Linked DNA regions of Homo sapiens: region 2 is linked to region 1. Evidence: promoter capture Hi-C in human tissues and cell types (Jung and others, 2019). All regions are on one chromosome and are shown on one strand. Each heading gives the region's core, a stretch centred on a gene start or on the middle of the fragment in contact. The rest is flanking DNA. Distances are from core to core; before and after follow the strand shown.

Evidence for each region. The method cuts DNA at HindIII sites, captures the fragments that hold promoters and counts their contacts. A contact is called where the count stands out against the background at its distance.
Region 2: a contact is called between a fragment that was not itself captured here and the fragment with the promoter of DCXR in region 1, in 1 of the 25 tissues and cell types used here (spleen).

What each region holds. Positions count from the first base shown.
Region 1 is chr17:82,036,346-82,038,946 of GRCh38, reverse strand. It overlaps DCXR (dicarbonyl and L-xylulose reductase), which reads left to right and starts at 1,250. Exons shown (of 8, transcript NM_016286.4): 1 at 1,250-1,316; 2 at 1,400-1,497; 3 at 1,934-2,088; 4 at 2,184-2,226; 5 at 2,304-2,403; 6 at 2,499-2,563. The coding sequence starts at 1,265. DCXR-DT (DCXR divergent transcript) reads right to left here and starts at 1,029. Exons shown (of 2, transcript NR_159948.1): 1 at 679-1,029. RefSeq lists a silencer at 1,030-1,859. The HindIII fragment of the contact is 8,854 bases long and covers 1-2,601 here.
Region 2 is chr17:81,501,231-81,507,549 of GRCh38, reverse strand. No RefSeq gene overlaps it. Among named protein-coding and RNA genes, the nearest start is that of ACTG1, 8.4 kb to the left of the region's middle. The HindIII fragment of the contact is 9,311 bases long and covers 1-6,319 here.

The DNA.
Region 1 (2,601 bases), core at 1-2,500:
CAGCCTCCCACAAGAAGCTGGTGGAGCAGAGTGTTCCCTGACGCCTCCAAGGAAAGGAGACTCCCCTTCGCAGTCTTCTAAGTAACGGGTGGCTTCCCAGACAACGGCATTACTGCTTGACCAAGGAGCCCTCAAGCAGCCCTTATGCGGGAGTGACAGAGGGCTCACCTCTTGCCTTCTAGGTCACTTCTCACAATGTCCCTAGGTTATATTAGTAATGCAACAAAGAGTAATATTAAAAGCTAATGATTAATAATGTTTATACTAATGATTGATAATTATCCATGATCATGATCATTTTTATATCTAATTTGTATTATGACTATTTTTATTTTAACTGTTTTTTTTTTAAAGATGGAGTCTTGCTCTGTCGCCCAGGCTGGAGTGCAGTGGCGCAATCTCGGCTCACTGCAAGCTCCGCCTCCTGGGTTCGCGCCATTCTCCTGCCTCAGCCTCCTGAGTAGCTGGGACTACAGGTGCCCGCCACCGCGCCCGGCTAATTTTTTGTATTTTTAGTAGAGATGGGGTTTCACCGTGTTAGCCAGGATGGTCTCGATCTCCTGACCTCGTGATCCACCCGCCTCGGCCTCCCAAAGTGCTGGGATTACAGGCGTGAGCCACCGCTCCCGGCCTATTTTCTTTGTTATACTGAAACAGTTTGTGTCTTCAGTCTCTTGCCTTGGCATCTAGGTAATCCTTCGCCCACAGATGAAAGCGGAGCTCTGCTGACATTGGTGTCTTCTCCAGACGTAGTTGGTTGTCCAAATTCTTTCCCTTGGCTTTAAAGTGAGCCGGCGGTGTCCTGCTCCCAAGCCTGAGAGATGATGGGCACAGGCGACACTTTTTAGGACATGCCGATGTTTTCAGAAACAAAACAAGAAATGTTAGCCCTGAAATTCTCCATTTCACGTGTTCTTCCTGATATTAACCACACATTCTTTCCGATATTAACCACCACATCGTCTTTTTGCAATAATCTTGGCAGGGAAAAATATGCTAGCCAGGGTCCACTACGTCGATTTCAAGCACGGAAGATGGGTCACACCAGGCACTTCAAAAGACCCGTCCCTGAGGCAGCGGAGACCCCGCCCCGCCCCGGCGCGCCCACTCCTTTCGGCCAATCACTGCAGCGGGGAGCAGCTATTTGAATGTCCCCACCGCCTATCTGAAGGCCGCCCTGCCATTGGCCCCGCCGCGCCCCGCCCATCGTGGCCAGAGCTTCAAGTTCCGCAGCCCCAGTGCGGAGGGCGGAGACTGCGCCGACATGGAGCTGTTCCTCGCGGGCCGCCGGGTGCTGGTCACCGGGGCAGGCAAAGGTGGGCGGCGGGGAAAGGTGGGCAAAGGCCGGCGGCGGGCAGAGGCGGGCAGGGGACGCCTTCACTGAGCCCGCTCCCGGCAGGTATAGGGCGCGGCACGGTCCAGGCGCTGCACGCGACGGGCGCGCGGGTGGTGGCTGTGAGCCGGACTCAGGCGGATCTTGACAGCCTTGTCCGCGAGGTAGGTCCCGCCGGGTCCCAGCGCTGCGAGGCGGCGAGCCAGGAGGGGGCGGCAGCGAGCGGGGGCGGTACCTCTGTGCGCGACTCCGCCTCCCCTCGCGGGCGCTGCGCTTCTCACCGCGGCCTGGGCGCCCGCGCACCCTCTCTCGGGGCTGGTGGCCTGCGTGGGCGGCCGGGTGGTCGGCAGAGCCGCCGGGGCCCCCGGGCTCAGAAAGAGGCCGAAATGGCTGCGAAGCAGGCCCCGGGCAGGAGTCGCTCGGGCGCAGGGAGGAAGTGAACCGGCCGGAGGTAGCGCCCGGCTGCTGGCCCCACAGTCCCGACACCTTCGGAACTCCTAACTCCTTTACTTGTCCGGCTGAAAGGTCACCAGCCCCAGTCCCCAGCTGTGCCGCTTGCTGGGCACAGAGCCTCTGGTAACTGCCCCCTGATACACACAGTGCCCGGGGATAGAACCCGTGTGCGTGGACCTGGGTGACTGGGAGGCCACCGAGCGGGCGCTGGGCAGCGTGGGCCCCGTGGACCTGCTGGTGAACAACGCCGCTGTCGCCCTGCTGCAGCCCTTCCTGGAGGTCACCAAGGAGGCCTTTGACAGGTGAGCCTGTGAGGGCGGAGGAACCTCAGGGAGGGGCTGTCCTGGAGGACGCAGCAGCCCTAATCTCTGACCAGGGTCTGTCCCTCGGCCTCTAGATCCTTTGAGGTGAACCTGCGTGCGGTCATCCAGGTGTCGCAGGTGAGCTGCCCTGTGGGCTGGACGGGAATTCTCGTGAGTGATGCCAGCTCTGCCTCACGGTCTCGCTGCGATTCCAGATTGTGGCCAGGGGCTTAATAGCCCGGGGAGTCCCAGGGGCCATCGTGAATGTCTCCAGCCAGTGCTCCCAGCGGGCAGTAACTAACCATAGCGTCTACTGTGAGTGCCCCAGCTGTGCCCTCAGCCCCACCCCAGCCCCAGCCTCGCCCTCATCACCGACCCCAGCCCCAGCCAGCTTGGGTTCCTCTTCGTAGGCTCCACCAAGGGTGCCCTGGACATGCTGACCAAGGTGATGGCCCTAGAGCTCGGGCCCCACAAGGTGAGCAGGGCTGGGGTACCTCCCCCAACCTAGGACAC
Region 2 (6,319 bases), core at 1,092-3,591, 530 kb after region 1:
ACACGCTTGTAGTAACCCAGCTACTCAGAAGGGTGAGGTGGGAGGATCACTTGAACCTGGGGAGATTGAGGTTGCAGTCAGCTGTGATTGAGCCACTGCACTCCAGCCTGGATGACAGAGCAAGACCCTGTCTCAAAAAAAAAAAAACAAAAAAAAAAACTGCTGGGAGCAGTGGCTCACACCTGTAATCCCAGCACTTTGGGAGGCTGAGGCTGGCAGATCACGAGGTCAGGAGAACAAGACCATCCTGGCTCTGTCATCCAGGCTGGAGTGCAGTGGTGCAATCTCAGCTCACTGCAGCATCTGCCTCCTGGGTTCAAGCGATTCTCTTGCCTCAGCTTCTCAAGTAGCTGGGATTATAGGTGTGTGCCACCACACCCAGCTGATTTTTGTATTTTTAATACAAACAGAATTTCGATACGTTGGCCAGGCTGGTCTTGAACTCCTGACCTCAGGTGATCCACCCTCCTTGGCCTCCTAAAGTGCTGGGATTACAGGCGTGAGCCACCGCACCCAGCCAATTGTACACTTTTTTTTGAGACAGAGTCTTGCTCTGTTGCCAGGCTGGAGTGCAGTGGTGTGATCTCGGCTCACTGCAACCTCTGGCCCCTGGGTTCAAGCGATTCTCCTGCCTCAGCCTCCCGAGTAGCTGGGACTACAGGCGTGTGCCTGTGTACCTGGTTAATTTTTGTATTTTTAGTAGAGACGGGGTTTCACCATGTTGGCCGGAATGGTCTTGATCCCCTGACCTCAGGTGATCTGCCTGCCTCGGCCTCCCAAAGTGCTGGGATCACAGGTGTGAGCCACTGCGCCTGGCCTGTACACTTTTAAACGATTAAAATGGTAACTTTTATGTTCCATATTTCTTTTTCTTTTTCTTTCTTTTTTTTTTCTTTTTTGAGATGGAGTGTCGCTCTTGTTGCCCAATTGGAGTGCAATGGCGCAATCTCAGCTCACCACAACCTCCACCTCCTGGGTTCAAGCGATTCTCCTGCCTCAGCCTCCCAAGTAGCTGGGATTACAGGCATGCGCCACCGCGCCCAGCTAATTTTGTATTTTCGGTAGAGATGGGGTTTCTCCATGTTGGTCAGTCTGGTCTCAAACTCCTGACCTCAGGTGATCCGTCCACCTCGGCCTCCCAAAGTGCTGGGATTACAGGCATGAGCCACCGCGCCCGGCTGCAACAGCAATATATTGACTCAGAGGAGGACAGGTGCTGCTGAAAGGGGCTGAGAGAATCTGATCCTGGCTCAGCACAGCTGGGGATTGGCCTCCTCCATGGCCTTTTGTTTGTTTGCTTTTGTGTTTTTTTTGGAGACAGCATCTCACTATGTTGCCCAGGCTGAACTCCTGGACTCAATGGTCCTCCTGCTTAGGCCTCCCAAAGTGCTGGGATTACAGGCATGAGCCACTGCACCCAGCCTAGGACTCTTTTTGAAAAAACAACCACAAGCTGGGCGCGGTGGCTCATTCCTGTAATCCCACCACTTTGGGAAGCCGAGACGGGCGGATCACGAGGTCAGGAGTTCAAGACCAGCCTGGCCAACATGGTGAAACCCATCTCTACTAAAAATACAAAAATTAGCCAGGCATGGTGGCGTGCGCCTGTAATCCCAGCTATTCCAGAGGCTGAGGCAGGAGAATTGCTTGAACCCACATGGCAGAGGTTGCAGTGAGCCGAGATTGAGCCACTGCACTCCAGCCTGGGTGACAGAGCAAGACTCTATCTCAAAAAAAAAAAAAAAAAAAAAAAAATCACAGTATCATGCCCCCACCCACCAATTATTGATCGATACTTAGTATCATCTAATGTCCAAATTTCCTTGGTTGTCTTAAATTTTTTGTTGTTGTTTTGTTTGTCTGTTTTTTTGGGGGGACAGGGTCTTGCTTTGTTGCCCAGGCTAGAGTGCAGTGGCACAATCACAGCTCACTGCAGCCTCGACTTCCTAGGCTCAAGCAATCCTCCCACCTCAGCCGCTTGAGTAGCTGGGACTACAGGCGTGCACCACCATGCCCAGATAATTTTTAAACTTTCTGTAGAGATGGGGTCTCCCTATGTTGCTTAGGCTGGTCTCAAGCTCCTGGTCTCAAGAGATCCTCTCACCTCAGCCTCCTAAAATGTGGCGATTACAGGTGTGAGCCACCATGCCCAGCCTTAAATTTCTTTCTTTTTTTTTTTTGAGACGGAGTCTCACTCTGTCACCCGGGCTGGAGTGCAGTGGTGTGATCTCGGCTCGCTGCAAGCTCCGCCTCCTGGGTTCATGCCATTCTCCTGCCTCAGCCTCCCGAGTAGCTGGGACTACAGGCGCCCACCACCACGCCCGGCTGGTGTATTTTTAGTAGAGACGGGGTATTTTTTTTGTATTTTTTTGTATTTTTTTTGTATTTTTAGTAGAGACGGGGTTTCACCGTGTTGGCCAGGATGGTCTCGATCTCCTGACCTCGTGATCCACCCGCCTCGGCCCCCCAAAGTGCTGGGATTACAGGCGTGAGCCACCGCGACCCACCTAAATTTCTTTTAACGGTTGGTTTCCAATCATTGCACTTGGCCACTATGTCTCTTAAATCTCTTTTAACCGCGGGATTTACCCTCTTTCATTTTTCTCCTTTCAGGTTATTTGTGGAAGAAGGCAGGTCTTTTGTTCCAAAGGGTTCCACCTGTCTGGATTTTGCTGATTTCGTCCTTGTGGTTGATGTGGCACGTTCCTCAACCCTTATATTTCCTATAGTCAGTTAGCTCTAGGTGTAAATGTCCAAACTGGTCTGTTTAATCTCATTCAGGTTGATTTTTTTAGCAAGAAGATGACCACAGGGTGGGTGCAACTTCATGGAGAGGGAAAGAGTCCCACAGAGCCTGATGTTGTGATATTAGCAGCCATTGGAAATCCCTGCCAGGACCTGCTATTTCATTAGTGGTTACAAATTATTCTCCCCCTCCACTCCCCTCCCCTCCCTCTTTTCTCCTCTCCTCCTCTCCCTCCCTCCCTCCTTCTCTCCTTCCCTCCTTCCCTCCCTCCCTTTCTTTTTTGATGGAGTCTCACTCTCTCGCCGCTGGAGTGCGGCCTCCGCCTCCAGTTTCCAGCAATTCTCCTGCCTCAGCCTCCTGAGTAGCTGGGACTATAGGCGCCCACCACCACGCCTGGCTAATTTTTTTTTTGTATTTTTAGTAGAGATGGGATTTCACCGTGTTAGCCAGGATGGTCTTGATCTCCTGACCTCGTGATCTGCCTGTCTCGGCCTCCCAGAGTGCTGGGATTACAGGCGTGAGCCACTGCGCCTGGCCTATTTCTTTCTTTTTTTTAATGGAGTTTTGCTCTTGTTGCCCAGACTGGAGTCCGGTGGTGTGATCTCGGCTCACTGTAACCTCCACCTTCTGGGTTCAAGCGATTCTCCTGCCTCAGCTTCCCAAGTAGCTGGGATTATAGGTGCCCACCACCATGCCCCACTAATTTTTGTATTTTCTGTAGAGCCAGGGTTTCACCATGTTGGTTGGCCAGGCTGGTCTTGAACTTCTGACCTCAGGTGATCTGCCCACCTTGGCCTTCCAAAGTGCTGGGATTACAGGCATGAGGCACTGCACCTGGCCTTTTCTTTTCTTTTCTTCTTTTCTTTCCCTTTCTCCCTCCCTTTCTTCTCCCTTCCTTCCTTCCTTCCCTTCTTTCTTTCCCTCCCTCCCTCCCTTCTTTCTTTTTCTTTTTTCTTTCTTTCCTTTTTTCTCTCTTTCTTTTCTTTCTCCTCTTTCTTTCTTGCTTGCTTTCTTTCTTGCTTGCTTTCCTTCTTCCTTTCCTCTTTCCTTTCTTTCTTTCTTTTCTTCTTTCCAGGGTCTTGCTCTGTCACCCTGGCTGGAGTGCAGTGGCAATAGAGGCTCACTGTAGCCTTGACCTCAGGGGCTCAAGCAATCCTCCCACCTCAGTCTCCCTAGTAGCTAGGACCAGCACGCCTGGTTAATGGTTTTCTAATTCTATCCTTCCTTTTTTTTCTTTTTGAGATGGAGTCTCGCTCTGTCGCCCAGGCTGGGGTGCAGGGGCGCGATCTCGGCTCACTACAAGTTCCGCCTCCTGGGTTCACACCATTCTCCTGCCTCAGCCTCCCGAGTAGCTGGGACCACAGGCGCCCGCCACCACGCCTGGCTAATTTTTTGTATTTTTACTAGAGACGGGGTTTCACAGTGTTAGCCAGGATGGTCTCGATCTCCTGACCTCGTGATCCGCCCGCCTCGGCCTCCCAAAGTGCTGGGATTACAGGTGTAAGCCACCGCGCCCAGCCTGTTTTCAATATCTTAAATGCCATTCAGCTTAGTTAACAGAAACTTCTGGAAGGGATGCCTGCTCTGAGAAGTGTCACACGTGCTGGGGGACTTCAGGGCACTCCTGAAAGGGCTCCCCTTCCCCAGGATCCCTGGGTCCTGATGGTAGGCAGAGGTGGAGGATGTTCTCCAAGCCGAGCCTTCCTGCAGCTTTCAGAGCCTGTCCACACCACCGGCATCCCTCTACCCAGACCAATTTTCCCCGGCAGGAGATGGACATTGTGTTTATTGGATGCAATTTCAAACCCCTTTCATGTTTTCATAGAGGATGGAGACCAAGGGGGAAGTTCAGTGGTTCACGTTGGCAAATCCTGGCTCCGATGACTGAGAGATTTTCTGACTTACAGGACCCTTGCTTGGTTGGAGGTGGGTCCTAAACATCAGAGCCAGAGACAGCTGTGGGCAGGTGTTTTCCTCTGTGCAGCACGTGGGCCAAGTGCTGGGGCTGCCTGCTGTACACAGAGCACCTCGTGGCCTCCCATGGCTCCCTTCAGCTATGCTTGGCCTGCCCGCCTGCTGGTGGTCGTTTGGAATCCTTTCCTGCTGGAAAGGATGTGTCCCCGTGCTGTCCAGCTCCCTGCTGGCGGCCCTTCTCAGGGTGCCCTCCAGAGAGGACTGCCGTGGTGCATACTTCACACATGATGCAGCATCATGGTCTATGTGAATGGCATCCCCTGCAGTTGTGCAGTGCACCACCTGTGCAGCCGTCCACAGCATCCCCACACAGCCCAGTCCTCTCCCGGGAAGCACGCCTTCCTCCACTTCCACCCTCTGTTACTCGTCCATCTCCCTCCCCGATATGCAGGATTAAAAAAAAATTTCTTTCTTTTTTTTTTTTTTTTTTTTTTGAGACAGAGTTTTTGCTCTGTTGCCCAGGCTGGAATGCAATAGTGCAGTCTCAGCTCACTGCAACCTCTGCCTCCTGGGTTCAAGCGATTCTCCTGCCTCAGCCTCCCAAGTGGCTGGGATTACAGGCATCCACCACCACACCCAGATAATTTTTATATTTTTAGTAGAGATGGGGTTTCACCATGTTGGCCAGGCTGGTCTTGAACTCGTGACCTCAGTTGATCCACCCTCCTTGGCCTCCCAAAGTGCTAGGATTACAGGTGTGAGCCACCACGCCCAGCCCCCCAAAAAATTTGTTTTAGATTATGGTAAAACATGCATAACACAAAATTGATCATTTTAATGGTGTTGAAGTGTACAGTCATTACGTCACAAAGCTGTGCCTCTATTACCACATGTTCAGAATTCTTTCATCTTCCCAAACTGAAACTCTACAACTATTTTCTTTTATTTTTTTGAGACGGAGTCTTGCTCTGTCACTAGGCTGCAGTGCAGTGGCACGATCTCGGCTCACTGCAACCTCCGCCTCCCGGGTTCAAGGGATTCTCCTGCCTCAGCCTCCCAAGTAGCTGGGACTACAGGCATGCACCAACACATCTGGCTACTTTTTGTATTTTTAGTAGAGACAGGGTTTCACCATGTTGGCCAGGCTGGTCTCAAACTCCTGACCTCAGGCAATCCTCCCACCTCGGCCTCCCAAAGTACTGGAATTACAGGCGTGAGCCACCATGCCGACTGAAACTCTATATCTATTAAACAACAATTTTCTTCCTTTTTTTTTTTTTTCTTTTTTTGGACAGGGTCTTGCAGTGTAACATAAGCCATAGTGAACTGGCATAATCACAGTTGACCACAGCCTCAACCTCCCTGACTCCAGCAATCTGCCCATCTCAGCCTCTGGAGTAGCTGGGACCACAGGCGTGTGCCACCACGCCTGGCTAATTTAATTTATTTACTTTTATTTATTTATTTTTTAGAGACAGGGTCTCACTTTGTTGCCCATGCTGAAGTGCAGTGGTGCAAGCTCAGTCACTGGCTGGGCTCAGGTGATCTTCCCACCTCGGCCTCCTGAGTAGCTGGGAATACAGGTGCATGCCACCAAGCCCGGCTAATTTTTTGGTATTTTTAGGAAAGACGAGGTTTCACCGTATCACTCAGGCTGGT